4 separate regions of the Homo sapiens genome follow, and all the other regions are linked to region 3. The links are contacts of gene promoters, found by promoter capture Hi-C in blood cells and fetal thymus (Javierre and others, 2016). All regions are on one chromosome and are shown on one strand. Each heading gives the region's core, a stretch centred on a gene start or on the middle of the fragment in contact. The rest is flanking DNA. Distances are from core to core; before and after follow the strand shown. Region 1 has its middle 14 kb from the start of SULT1C4. Region 2 has its middle 31 kb from the start of SULT1C4. Region 3 holds the start of LINC01594 (long intergenic non-protein coding RNA 1594). Region 4 overlaps GCC2 (GRIP and coiled-coil domain containing 2).

Region 1 (2,700 bases), core at 56-2,555, 150 kb after region 3:
ATTTAAATGGGACAGGTGGCTAGGCTCTGCTATCTGGCAAAACTACTGGCTGAGCTCTGCCATCAAGCCGAGCCAGTCAATTGGCACTACAATGGCTTCTAATCAAGCAGGGCCACAGGGTGTATTCCCTGGTCAGATGGTACTGATATTTGAGTTCAGCAGCTAAATAGTGTTGCAGGAGGGACCCTGAGGTTAGGTGGAGTCACTGATTGGGATGGATGGAACCAGCTGCTATGCTTAATAGCAATGGATGGTTGAGGTTTGCTGCCCTGCCTAAATGAGTCCTTGGGGTGGGCTTTGAGGTTGGGCTGAGAACTGTTTAAACTCCTGTGTGTGGCAGATCTAGCCTTGGCTCTTTGCCAAAGTTTGCTGCATCAGTTGTCCCCCTCTGTGGGTGGGGTTTGGGGATGGGCTTTGAGGATGCTTCAAATGCTGTTTGAACTTCTGGGTGTGGCAGAACTAGTCCCTACCCTTTACTGAAATTTGCTGCAGTGATCATCTTCCTCCTTAAGTGGAATCCCTGGGTAGGGTCTAAGGCGAGTCATGGAGGCTGACCATCTAGGGACTCAAGCTAGGTAGAGCATTACATCACATCTGTTAGCTGGTACCTCTGATTGGGCGCCACCACTGACAGGTACACAGAGTTACCACCAATACTGCTTTGTTACCACCTCCTTGCTTTGTTTCTACCTCACCCCAAGTGTTCTAGCCACGCTGTTTCCCACTGTATTTCCCATGAAGTAAAACTGGAATGGGCTTTCTGGGAAGCATCTCAGAAGACTAGGGAAGTTGGATGTCCTCCTCTGGCTCTACTTCTCACTGTAGAAATCATGGGTCCTGGGGAATCCCCTCTGTGTGGCACTGTGCCAATTTGGGGGAGTGGAAAGGGTGACATGGTTAATGTGAGACTATTTCTATTATCTCTTTAATGTCGTTTTTATTCAGTTCTGTGGACAATGCAGGAAACTCCAGCTTATACCCAAAGTTTGGGATTTTTACCAAGGTGTTCTTTGTTGTCAGTTGAACTTTCTGTTGGCAGTAGTGAAGCCTGGGACCTCCTATTCTGCCATTTTGCTGATATCATCTACCTGCAGCTTTTAAAGTGTTTCACTACAGTTTCCTGAAAACCACTTCTGCTTTGGTCTTCATGATATTTTCACTGCCTTGGCTTTCAAAGCTTCGTGCTAGCTTCTCCTTTTCTCCTTTTTCCATGAAGCTGGCTTCTAAACCGGCTCTGTTAGCAACATCTACTTTTCTTTCCACAGTCAGTCAGTCATAAAATCCTGTCTGTTTTTCTTGTGTCCTGTCTTTTGAATCTCTCTTTCCTTTCAATTCCACTGTCAAAAGTCAAATCCAGGCCCTCACTGACTCGTGCCTTAACAATTGTCTTTTCATTGGCTCTCCTTCCTCCAAGGTTTTTCTCCAATTCTTTGAAAAGCTTATTGTCTTAAGCACTGCCTTGTTGCCTTTTTCCTGCCCAAAAACTTTAATGTTCAGGCACCCAAGAGTGTCTGATTACTGCTATGTCCCCAAAATATATATAACTACCACTTATCAATTTAAAATATAAATAAATAAGCTTCAGGAAGACTTAGTTGAATAGGAAACATTCTTGGATTTTTTTCTCATATTCATAGTTCTTTAGTGATTCTGATAAAAGAACCTATAGAGAGAAAAAGTAAGCACCCGAAAACAACCAAAAGTTGTTCTCACTTAGAGGATACCTCAGAATCCTAATCCTGTTATCCTTCATTATCTAATTCTCTTAAGTCTGCTTTTAATAAGAAAGATTTGCAAATTCTCATCCCCTAAAATGTTATTTTCCAATATATGCAATTTTTCTAACATGAATCACTTCTTTTCCCTTCATTTGACCATGGCAGTAATCTAAAGGAGAGGACAGAGGAAGAAAAGCAAGGGGAATCTCAGATCTGTTTTACTATTTGCTAATATGTAGAAAATGAAATAAGTAGAGGTTCCTCTTCAAAGGTACTTTCCTCCAAGTCTAATTGAGAATGGATAGTAACCTCTCTTAGAAGCAAAATTTAGTCAAAGTCCTGTGCTAATATTCTTAAACATCTGCTAGCCATAATAAAGAAATCAATATACTCTGTGTTCTCAGCTCCCACATTCTAGCCTAGATATTTGCCCTGGCATGCCTGAACCGGTCCAAGCAAGCATTAGGTCATAACCAATTTCTCTTCCTTATTTGGAAGTGTTTTTGCCTCTCTCAGCATTCCGCAATTTGCCTGTTTTGGGAAGTTCTAAGTTGCTAGCCAATCAAGTGGAGTACAGAATGTGAGGTCCTGTTCCAGCCAAAGGAAACCAGACACAGCAGTAGGGTGGACACGTCAGGTTATAAATGACCCCGTCTCCTTTGTTCATGTGTGCTCTCATGGCAAGACTGCCAGAGAACAGCACCCTTTCTGCAGAAAGTAAACTAGCCTTGCTGAGAGATCCTTTGTCTCAATGTTGATTTTTGCGACACCGAGCACCCATTCCCAACATAATACAATCATTAAAATTAGACTTACAGATTTTCTGCAAATTTCTAGTTATCTTTGCTAGCCTTGCTCCTTATTCCCACTTATAATCTAGTTTTTCTGTTCATCTTTTGCTAAAATTGCCATTATAGATTTCACTTTTTACTACAGAAAGTTTCTCTAACTAATATTTTATAGATAATTAACGTACCTTGAT
Region 2 (2,700 bases), core at 20-2,519, 190 kb after region 3:
ATCTAAGTGGAAAAAAATTAATTATTCCAATCAGTAAAAGACTCAAACAAGACAAAATGAGTATCAGACATGAAGAATACTTAGTAGTCTGAGCATTTTTATATGAAATATATAAATGATATGAAATATAATAGAGCAAATGCTCATGCACCTACCACGGACTTAAATAAAGCATCTAAGTACCTACCACAAACTTTAATAAAGCATAAAGCATTCCAGGGGAAGTTCCTTGGTACCACTCCCAGCAGCATCCCTTCCCCTCCTTCCTGAGTTATCTCCTTCTCTCTGAGTTTGGTGGTTCTCATTCCCATGCATTTGTTTATATTTTTAGTGCACATGCTTGCAGATTTAAATTATCCTACTATATGCATTCTTCAACAATTTTCTTTTTCTGTTCAACACTAGTTTGTAATATTCATCCATGTTCAAATATAGTCCTGGCTTATTTCTTTTCACCGCTGTGTAGCATTCCAGCATATGAATATAGTAACACAACTTATTTCTTTGTTTTATCACATACCACATTATTTACATATCTATTCTCCTATTGCTAGATGTTTAGGTTATTTCCAACAGTTTGCTATTACCACCAAAGCCACTTTAGACATTCCTCTTATGTCTCCTTGGGCACACACACAGTTTCCCTGGGGTATAAACCTAAGAGGGGAATTCCTGGATCATCATGCTATATACCTTCAGCATTGCTAGGTATTGCACAACTGTTTCAAAAGACATTAAACCTATTTCCACTTTTTTTACATGAAGCCTCACTCTGTCACTCAGGCTGGAGTGCAATGGTGCGATCTCGGCTCACTGCAACCTCTGCCTCCCAAGTTCAAGTGATCCTCCTGCCTCAGCCTCCTGAGTAGCTGGGATTACAAACACACACCACCATGCCCAGCTAATTTTTGTATTTTTACTAGAGATGGGTTTCACCATGTTGGGCAGGCTGGTCTCGAACTCCTGACCTCAAGTAATCCCCCACCTCAGTTTCCCAAAGTGCTGGGATTACTAGTGTGAGCCACAGCACCCGGCCTAGGTGAATATTTTTATCCTCTTATTTCATGACTGGTCAGTGGTTTAGAGCTGTCATTAGTTAAGTTCAATAGTCTTTGAAATTTTGTCCTTTGAGACGGAATTCTTGTTTCTTCTTTTGACTCATACGGGACTCAAAGCTTTCTGGTCTCCCCCATTTTTCTCACTTCATTCTTCACACTAAAATGCTCCCACCACTTCCCTCTCCCCTTTATAGATCTTAACAGCTCTCCACATTAAAATGCCTCCTGTTCTTTTTGCAGTAGTGAATTTCATAGATAATAAACCTAAGATACACAAAAAGGTAACTTTTTAAATTTTCCTATAACTAAGCTTAATTTCTGACAATCAGCCTACATGTTTTCCAAACCAGAAAATAAAACAAAATTAGTGTCCTGGTAAATGTGGTTAAATTAGTTATTACTAAGTTATTTCAGAAGTTGTTAGCCAAATTTAGAGTTCTGCTTTTCCCTCTCCTTCTTCCACGGAAAAAAAAATTTATGTTTGGAGGTAGAGGGTAGTTATTGGCATTACTGACAAACAACACTGAATTTACTAAAGTGGAGGCCATTTTTAACCTTGACAAGACCTATTTTGGTAGATTGATCACAAAAGTTCTGCCTGCAGAGACTGCAAGAGAGACAAGGAAATTATCTGGAGATGGTAAATATAGTCAACTATTTTAGGAGTTTACTATTACAGAGGGAAAAAATGGGCAGTATCTGAGGTAGAATGTGGCAGCAAAGTATAAAATGTGAGACATTATAGAAAAGAAAGGAAAACTGATGATGAGTGTGGGGTGGGAACAGACAGAACCCAGGAGTTCAAACAGTTCATCCCTAGTAACAGGAGGAAGGCAGGATATGCAGACACAGATGCAGATGGTCTGGCACAGGTAGCACCATTGTTAGGGTCAGAGTGCTGGAAGGAGTGCGTGGGAAAGATGGAAGATGGTGGTTAGTTGGTGAGATGCCTGTAATTGTGATTATGAAAAGTACCCGATTATTGGTAAAGACAAGTCCTAAGGCATGATCACTAAAGCAATCAACTGGGGGAGAGTGAAACACAGGAGCACTGAAGAAAAGAAGAGGTAGTCCGTGTGGTTATTAAAATCACCAAAAATTGAAAGGAGTGGCAACGAAGACTGAGGACCTAAACATGTCAAGATGTGAGGTGAAACATAAGTGACCCAGAAGCTGACAAGTGACCACAACAAGGAGGAGCAATCAATGAGTTAGTTTACCACCATACCACCACGGGTTTCCAGGGTCTGAATACATTCCACCCCTTGTGAACTGCCTTCTCTCTCTGAGTATGGCATCTCAAACACAGGCCCCCTTCTCTGAAATGGATACATTTGCAATGATGAGGTCTCCAGTCAGGCAGCCCACTTCAATTGTCTTCATTGCTATTCCCTCTTTGACATCTGAAGCAGGCCTAGGTTCTGTTGAGGCACACAGCCTCTACTCAGTCTTTCTCTCAGGAAGCCAGCTTGCCTTGCCTTCCTTGGAGTCCCTAGCTCTTGAGGCATGCAATTAAGTTAGGTAATGCACATAAATTACTTAACACAGAGCAAGCGATTTAGTCATCTCTCAGTGTTTGTTATTTTTAGTCTCCCATCTAGAAATTATCCTTCTTGAAAGATTCTTAGCATAGTGGTCAAAT
Region 3 (2,700 bases), core at 126-2,625:
TGTGTGAGCATTTGAAATGCTTTTATTTGTGATACATATCTTCTAAACTTTCACAGAAATTTGAACATGTTTCTGACATGAATAATTGATTTTGAAATGTAAACTAACATGAGGTTTGCATGTTCTCCAATACTACTACTAATTTTTGAGTTATGTTAAAGATTTACAATAAAACATTCAATGTCCTTCCCAGATAACTTTGTGATTTAGTTCTAAGTTGCTTTATTATTTCCACATGCAAATACGTAATTTATTTCTTTGTCCATCAGCTGTTAATATTTTTGACTTTTTCCTTTTTATATAGCAGGAGATTAAAAGAACGTTTCATAAACACTCAAGTGCACCTTTAAATGCTGGGTAGGTCGAGTGGCATAGTGAAATATAGATATTGAGGAACATTATTATGTGTTTTCGTAAAACTAGACAGTGGACTCATTAGAATAATGTGGCAAAGAAATTTTAAAAATAATCCTTATAAAAGAAACATCATAAAAACAGAGAAAAAGGCTTAAATAGTATTACAGCTTTTATGTTACTTCTGCTTTCTATCTCTTCTTTCTCTGGCTCGCTTCTTAGATAATCTCATTCTCTCACATGGATTTTAAATTTCTGCAACATGGTACCATCTTCCAAATTTTTATCTCCACCTCAGATCTCAACCCTGAATTCCTAAATTGTCAGCCCAACTGCCTACTTCATATCTCTACTTCCTTGTTTTATATACATTTCAAACAGAAAAAGTCAAACCCACAAACCTAATTCACCCACTGTCTTCTTCATCTCAATTAAAAGGCAACTCCATCTTTTCAGTTGCTCAGCCAAAGCTTATTCTATTTCTCTCTCTCTTGCACACTACATCCAATCCATACATCATTTGGCTCTGACTTCAAACTATATCCAGAACATGACCTCTTCTTATCAACATTACTGTGACCAACCTCCTCTGAGTCACTGGCGTGTCTTCCCTGAAGACTTGCAATCACAACCTAATGAATATCCCTCCTTCTATGTCATAATTACCCAGTCACCATATGATCCTAAATGGATCACATCACTGTGCTGATCAAAATGCTGCAGCAGTGCCCCAACCCATTCAGTCTAAGCTGAATTGTATCACGGTCTCCTGTCCTACACCATCTGTCCCCAGGTCCCTTTCTAACCACCTTCTAACCTTTGCACACTCACTTCTCTTCAGACCTAGTGACTTCCCCACTCTTCCTTGAACTCACCTAGTGTAGTCCTGCCATAGAGACTTTGGCCTGGCATTTCCTCTGCCAAGAATGCTCTTCGATCAAACAGCTACATGACCCTCTCCTCATATCCTTCAATCTTTACCCAGAAAGCATCATTTCAGTCATGTCTTCCCTGATCATTCTACTTACAATCCAGCACTTCCTGGTTCCCCTTATTCTGCCCTAATCATTTCCATCACAAGTATCATCTCTTCTAACATACTCTACACTTTGCTCACTAAATTGGAGGCTCCAGGAAGACCATTCTCAGCCTCTGCCCATTGCCCAACAATCACATGGCCAGAACTAGAGATGATTTACAAAGGCAACATTCAAGGCCTCCCACAGGTATCCAGTGGACTGAATCTCAGAATTCTACCAGCATTGTTTTCTCACAAGAGATGCCTAGGTTATGGTTGGATCTCACATGGAAAAATATACAGGATGAGTATTCCCTGGGAAAGAGATTGCCATGGTTTGGACATTTGTCCCTTCCAAACCTTATGTTGAGATCTGATTCTAAATGTTGGAGGTGGGGTCTAACAGAAGGTGTTTGGGTGATAGTGGGAGACCCCTCAGGAATAGATTAATACCCTCCCCAGGAGTGAGTGAGCTCTTGCTCTATTCCTTCCCACAAGAGTTGGTTGTTAAAAAGAGCCTGGAAACTCCCTTCTCTTGCTTCCTGTCTTACCATGTGATTTTTGGATGCACTGACCCCCTTCACCTTCTGCCAGAAGTGGAAGCAGTCTGAGTCCCTCACCACGTGTCCAGTCTTCCAGCCATCAGAATTATGAGCCAAATAAACATTTTTTAAAATAAATTTCCCAGCCTCAGCTATTCCTTTATAGTGACACTAAATAGTCTAAAGACGGGGTGGTGGTCAAAATTCAAGCATCTTTCACCATAATGAATTGAATGTGCTGTTCATTAGTGAGACTCTGAAGACAATCTGACTTTTGACCTCTTGGGTAAAAGGTACACAAATTTAACCTTAATCATTGCACTTAATGGCCAGACTTTTTAAAACCATGAGTTTAAAAGTGTGATTCTTAGGGAGCTAGCCTGATTCCCCCTTAGAATTTTTCATAAGTCACTGTGACAACTGCAAAATATCATCAGCACAAAGACACAGCATAAAAATGAGTTACAAATACACGTCCTTAAAGGAAATAAATTCACTACTTTCTTGTCCAAGATTATGGCTAAAATTACAGCTCATTGGCACAGATTTTATATCTATCTATCTATCTATCTATCTATCTATCTATCTATCTATCTATCTATGTAAAACACTGATGAAACTGAAAAACTTGGAACAGTATCTGGTCCAAGGTAGCTGCTTAATAAACGTCTGATGAATTGAATGGAAACTGGAAGACTATCATTTATTATATGAGTCTTTAAAGTAACAATGAAGTTTCTATTTAAATGTAATTTTTAAAGTTTTGTAAATTGTGTTGTCAGTACT
Region 4 (2,700 bases), core at 13-2,512, 250 kb after region 3:
AAGCAAGAAGCAATTTTAAATTATGAGAGTTTACGAGAGATTATGGAAATTTTACAAACAGAACTGGGGGAATCTGCTGGAAAAATAAGTCAAGAGTTCGAATCAATGAAGCAACAGCAAGCATCTGATGTTCATGAACTGCAGCAGAAGCTCAGAACTGCTTTTACTGAAAAAGATGCCCTTCTCGAAACTGTGAATCGCCTCCAGGGAGAAAATGAAAAGTTACTATCTCAACAAGAATTGGTACCAGAACTTGAAAATACCATAAAGAACCTTCAAGAAAAGAATGGAGTATACTTACTTAGTCTCAGTCAAAGAGATACCATGTTAAAAGAATTAGAAGGAAAGATAAATTCTCTTACTGAGGAAAAAGATGATTTTATAAATAAACTGAAAAATTCCCATGAAGAAATGGATAATTTCCATAAGAAATGTGAAAGGGAAGAAAGATTGATTCTTGAACTTGGGAAGAAAGTAGAGCAAACAATCCAGTACAACAGTGAACTAGAACAAAAGGTAAATGAATTAACAGGAGGACTAGAGGAGACTTTAAAAGAAAAGGATCAAAATGACCAAAAACTAGAAAAACTTATGGTTCAAATGAAAGTTCTCTCTGAAGACAAAGAAGTATTGTCAGCTGAAGTGAAGTCTCTTTATGAGGAAAACAATAAACTCAGTTCAGAAAAAAAACAGTTGAGTAGGGATTTGGAGGTTTTTTTGTCTCAAAAAGAAGATGTTATCCTTAAAGAACATATTACTCAATTAGAAAAGAAACTTCAGTTAATGGTTGAAGAGCAAGATAATTTAAATAAACTGCTTGAAAATGAGCAAGTTCAGAAGTTATTTGTTAAAACTCAGTTGTATGGTTTTCTTAAAGAAATGGGATCAGAAGTTTCAGAAGACAGTGAAGAGAAAGATGTTGTTAATGTCCTACAGGCAGTCGGTGAATCCTTGGCAAAAATAAATGAGGAAAAATGCAACCTGGCTTTTCAGCGTGATGAAAAAGTATTAGAGTTAGAAAAAGAGATTAAGTGCCTTCAAGAAGAGAGTGTAGTTCAGTGTGAAGAACTTAAGTCTTTATTGAGAGACTATGAGCAAGAGAAAGTTCTCTTAAGGAAAGAGTTAGAAGAAATACAGTCAGAAAAAGAGGCCCTGCAGTCTGATCTTCTAGAAATGAAGAATGCTAATGAAAAAACAAGGCTTGAAAATCAGAATCTTTTAATTCAAGTTGAAGAAGTATCTCAAACATGTAGCAAAAGTGAAATCCATAATGAAAAAGAAAAATGTTTTATAAAGGAACATGAAAACCTAAAGCCACTACTAGAACAAAAAGAATTACGAGATAGGAGAGCAGAGTTGATACTATTAAAGGTACCATTCATTTGAATTCTATTGTTTCAAATAAATTCTTAGTTCAACTCTACAATATATACGTTAAACATTTTTACACCTTGACGTCAAAAGTAAATTTTTACCATTTAAGCCCAAGTGGCAACTTTCTGAAAAGTGCATTAGACATTTCCATGTTGTATGTCCAGTTTATTACATTTATTTTTGGGGAGTTTTAGATACTTTTAAAATCTTGAGTTTATAGAAGATTAAATGATTAGGGGTTTAAATGTCTTGATCAGAAGTTTATTAGTCACTAGCAAAACAACTAAACATGGAAAAACTTGAGTTTCATTCTCGTGTGATATGCTTAGTTATTTTTTGTAAAGAGCACTTTTTAAGTAAGAGCTGTGGTGGTATTGCTAAAATTTTAGGGTTTTCTTTAAAAATTAAAGATTAAAAATCATTTAATCTTCTCCTTATTACACATGTATTTAATGTATCAGGTTGTTTATCTTGGCCTTGGTTACTACTTTTTTTTTTTTTAATAGTAAATGCCATATGCATAGTAAGGTCAGTATTAATTTTCTGGTCTAACAAGGGAAAATCTGTTGACCAAATTGGTTTCTGTAGGAATTCTCTTTGATAGTGATTTTCTTATGCTTAACATGATGGCCAGTTCATTATGGAAAATGAATTCTGATTCTGGTTTTTGTTTTGTTTTGTGTTTTTTTTTCCCCTGTAAAATCTAGGATTCCTTAGCAAAATCACCTTCTGTAAAAAATGATCCTCTGTCTTCAGTAAAAGAGTTGGAAGAAAAAATAGGTAACTATGGTTTTGCAGATGTTGTCACAATTAATTAGACAGATTCTTCTTAGTGTTAGAATAGATTGGGAAATATAGTAGCCAAATAATGAGTTGTTAAAAACACAGTTCGTAGCTGTCTTTTCCTCGAGCTCACATTCTTGCCCCTCTAACACCTGTTTGCCTTCTCTTTCAAAAGTGTTACTTTCTATTGTTTAACCCAAGCAAGATTGGTGTGATTTATAAATGGCTTCATGATTTATTTTGGATTTTTCATTCATTTAGCAAATTTTATTTAAATGCCCAACTATTCTAGACCCTGGTGATAGAAAAGTGGTTGAGGTACAGACCATGTGCTCAGAGATCTCACTGTTGTTTGAGGTGTGGACAAGATACAGTACTAACAGCATAGGAACTTAACACTGTTTTGAGTTAAAAAAAAAAAAAAAAGCAGCGTAGAATAGGGTTTTCAGCCAAGTCTTGAAGAATGAGAAATTTTACACAGGAAGAAAGGTATTCTAGGAAGAAGGAAGAGCAGGTGCTTGTAGGTTGACATATAGCATACAT

The links. The method cuts DNA at HindIII sites, captures the fragments that hold promoters and counts their contacts. A CHiCAGO score of 5 or more calls a contact.
Region 1: a contact is called between a fragment that was not itself captured here and the fragment with the promoter of LINC01594 in region 3, in 1 of 17 cell types (M1 macrophages). The highest score is 6.2, in M1 macrophages.
Region 2: a fragment that was not itself captured here is called in contact with the fragment with the promoter of LINC01594 in region 3 in 2 of 17 cell types (M1 macrophages and M0 macrophages); the score reaches 6.4 in M1 macrophages.
Region 4: a contact is called between a fragment that was not itself captured here and the fragment with the promoter of LINC01594 in region 3, in 3 of 17 cell types (M0 macrophages, M1 macrophages and M2 macrophages). The highest score is 6.5, in M0 macrophages.

What each region holds. Positions count from the first base shown.
Region 1 is chr2:108,362,656-108,365,355 of GRCh38, forward strand. No RefSeq gene overlaps it. Among named protein-coding and RNA genes, the nearest start is that of SULT1C4, 14 kb to the right of the region's middle. RefSeq lists an enhancer at 1,733-2,700. The HindIII fragment of the contact is 261 bases long and covers 1,176-1,436 here.
Region 2 is chr2:108,407,374-108,410,073 of GRCh38, forward strand. No RefSeq gene overlaps it. Among named protein-coding and RNA genes, the nearest start is that of SULT1C4, 31 kb to the left of the region's middle. The HindIII fragment of the contact is 193 bases long and covers 1,174-1,366 here.
Region 3 is chr2:108,216,466-108,219,165 of GRCh38, forward strand. It overlaps LINC01594 (long intergenic non-protein coding RNA 1594), which reads right to left and starts at 1,376. Exons shown (of 5, transcript NR_131251.1): 1 at 1,230-1,376. The HindIII fragment of the contact is 2,331 bases long and covers 823-2,700 here.
Region 4 is chr2:108,470,746-108,473,445 of GRCh38, forward strand. It overlaps GCC2 (GRIP and coiled-coil domain containing 2), which reads left to right. Exons shown (of 23, transcript NM_181453.4): 6 at 1-1,371; 7 at 2,082-2,154. Among named protein-coding and RNA genes, the nearest start is that of GCC2, 23 kb to the left of the region's middle. The HindIII fragment of the contact is 8,054 bases long and covers 1-2,700 here.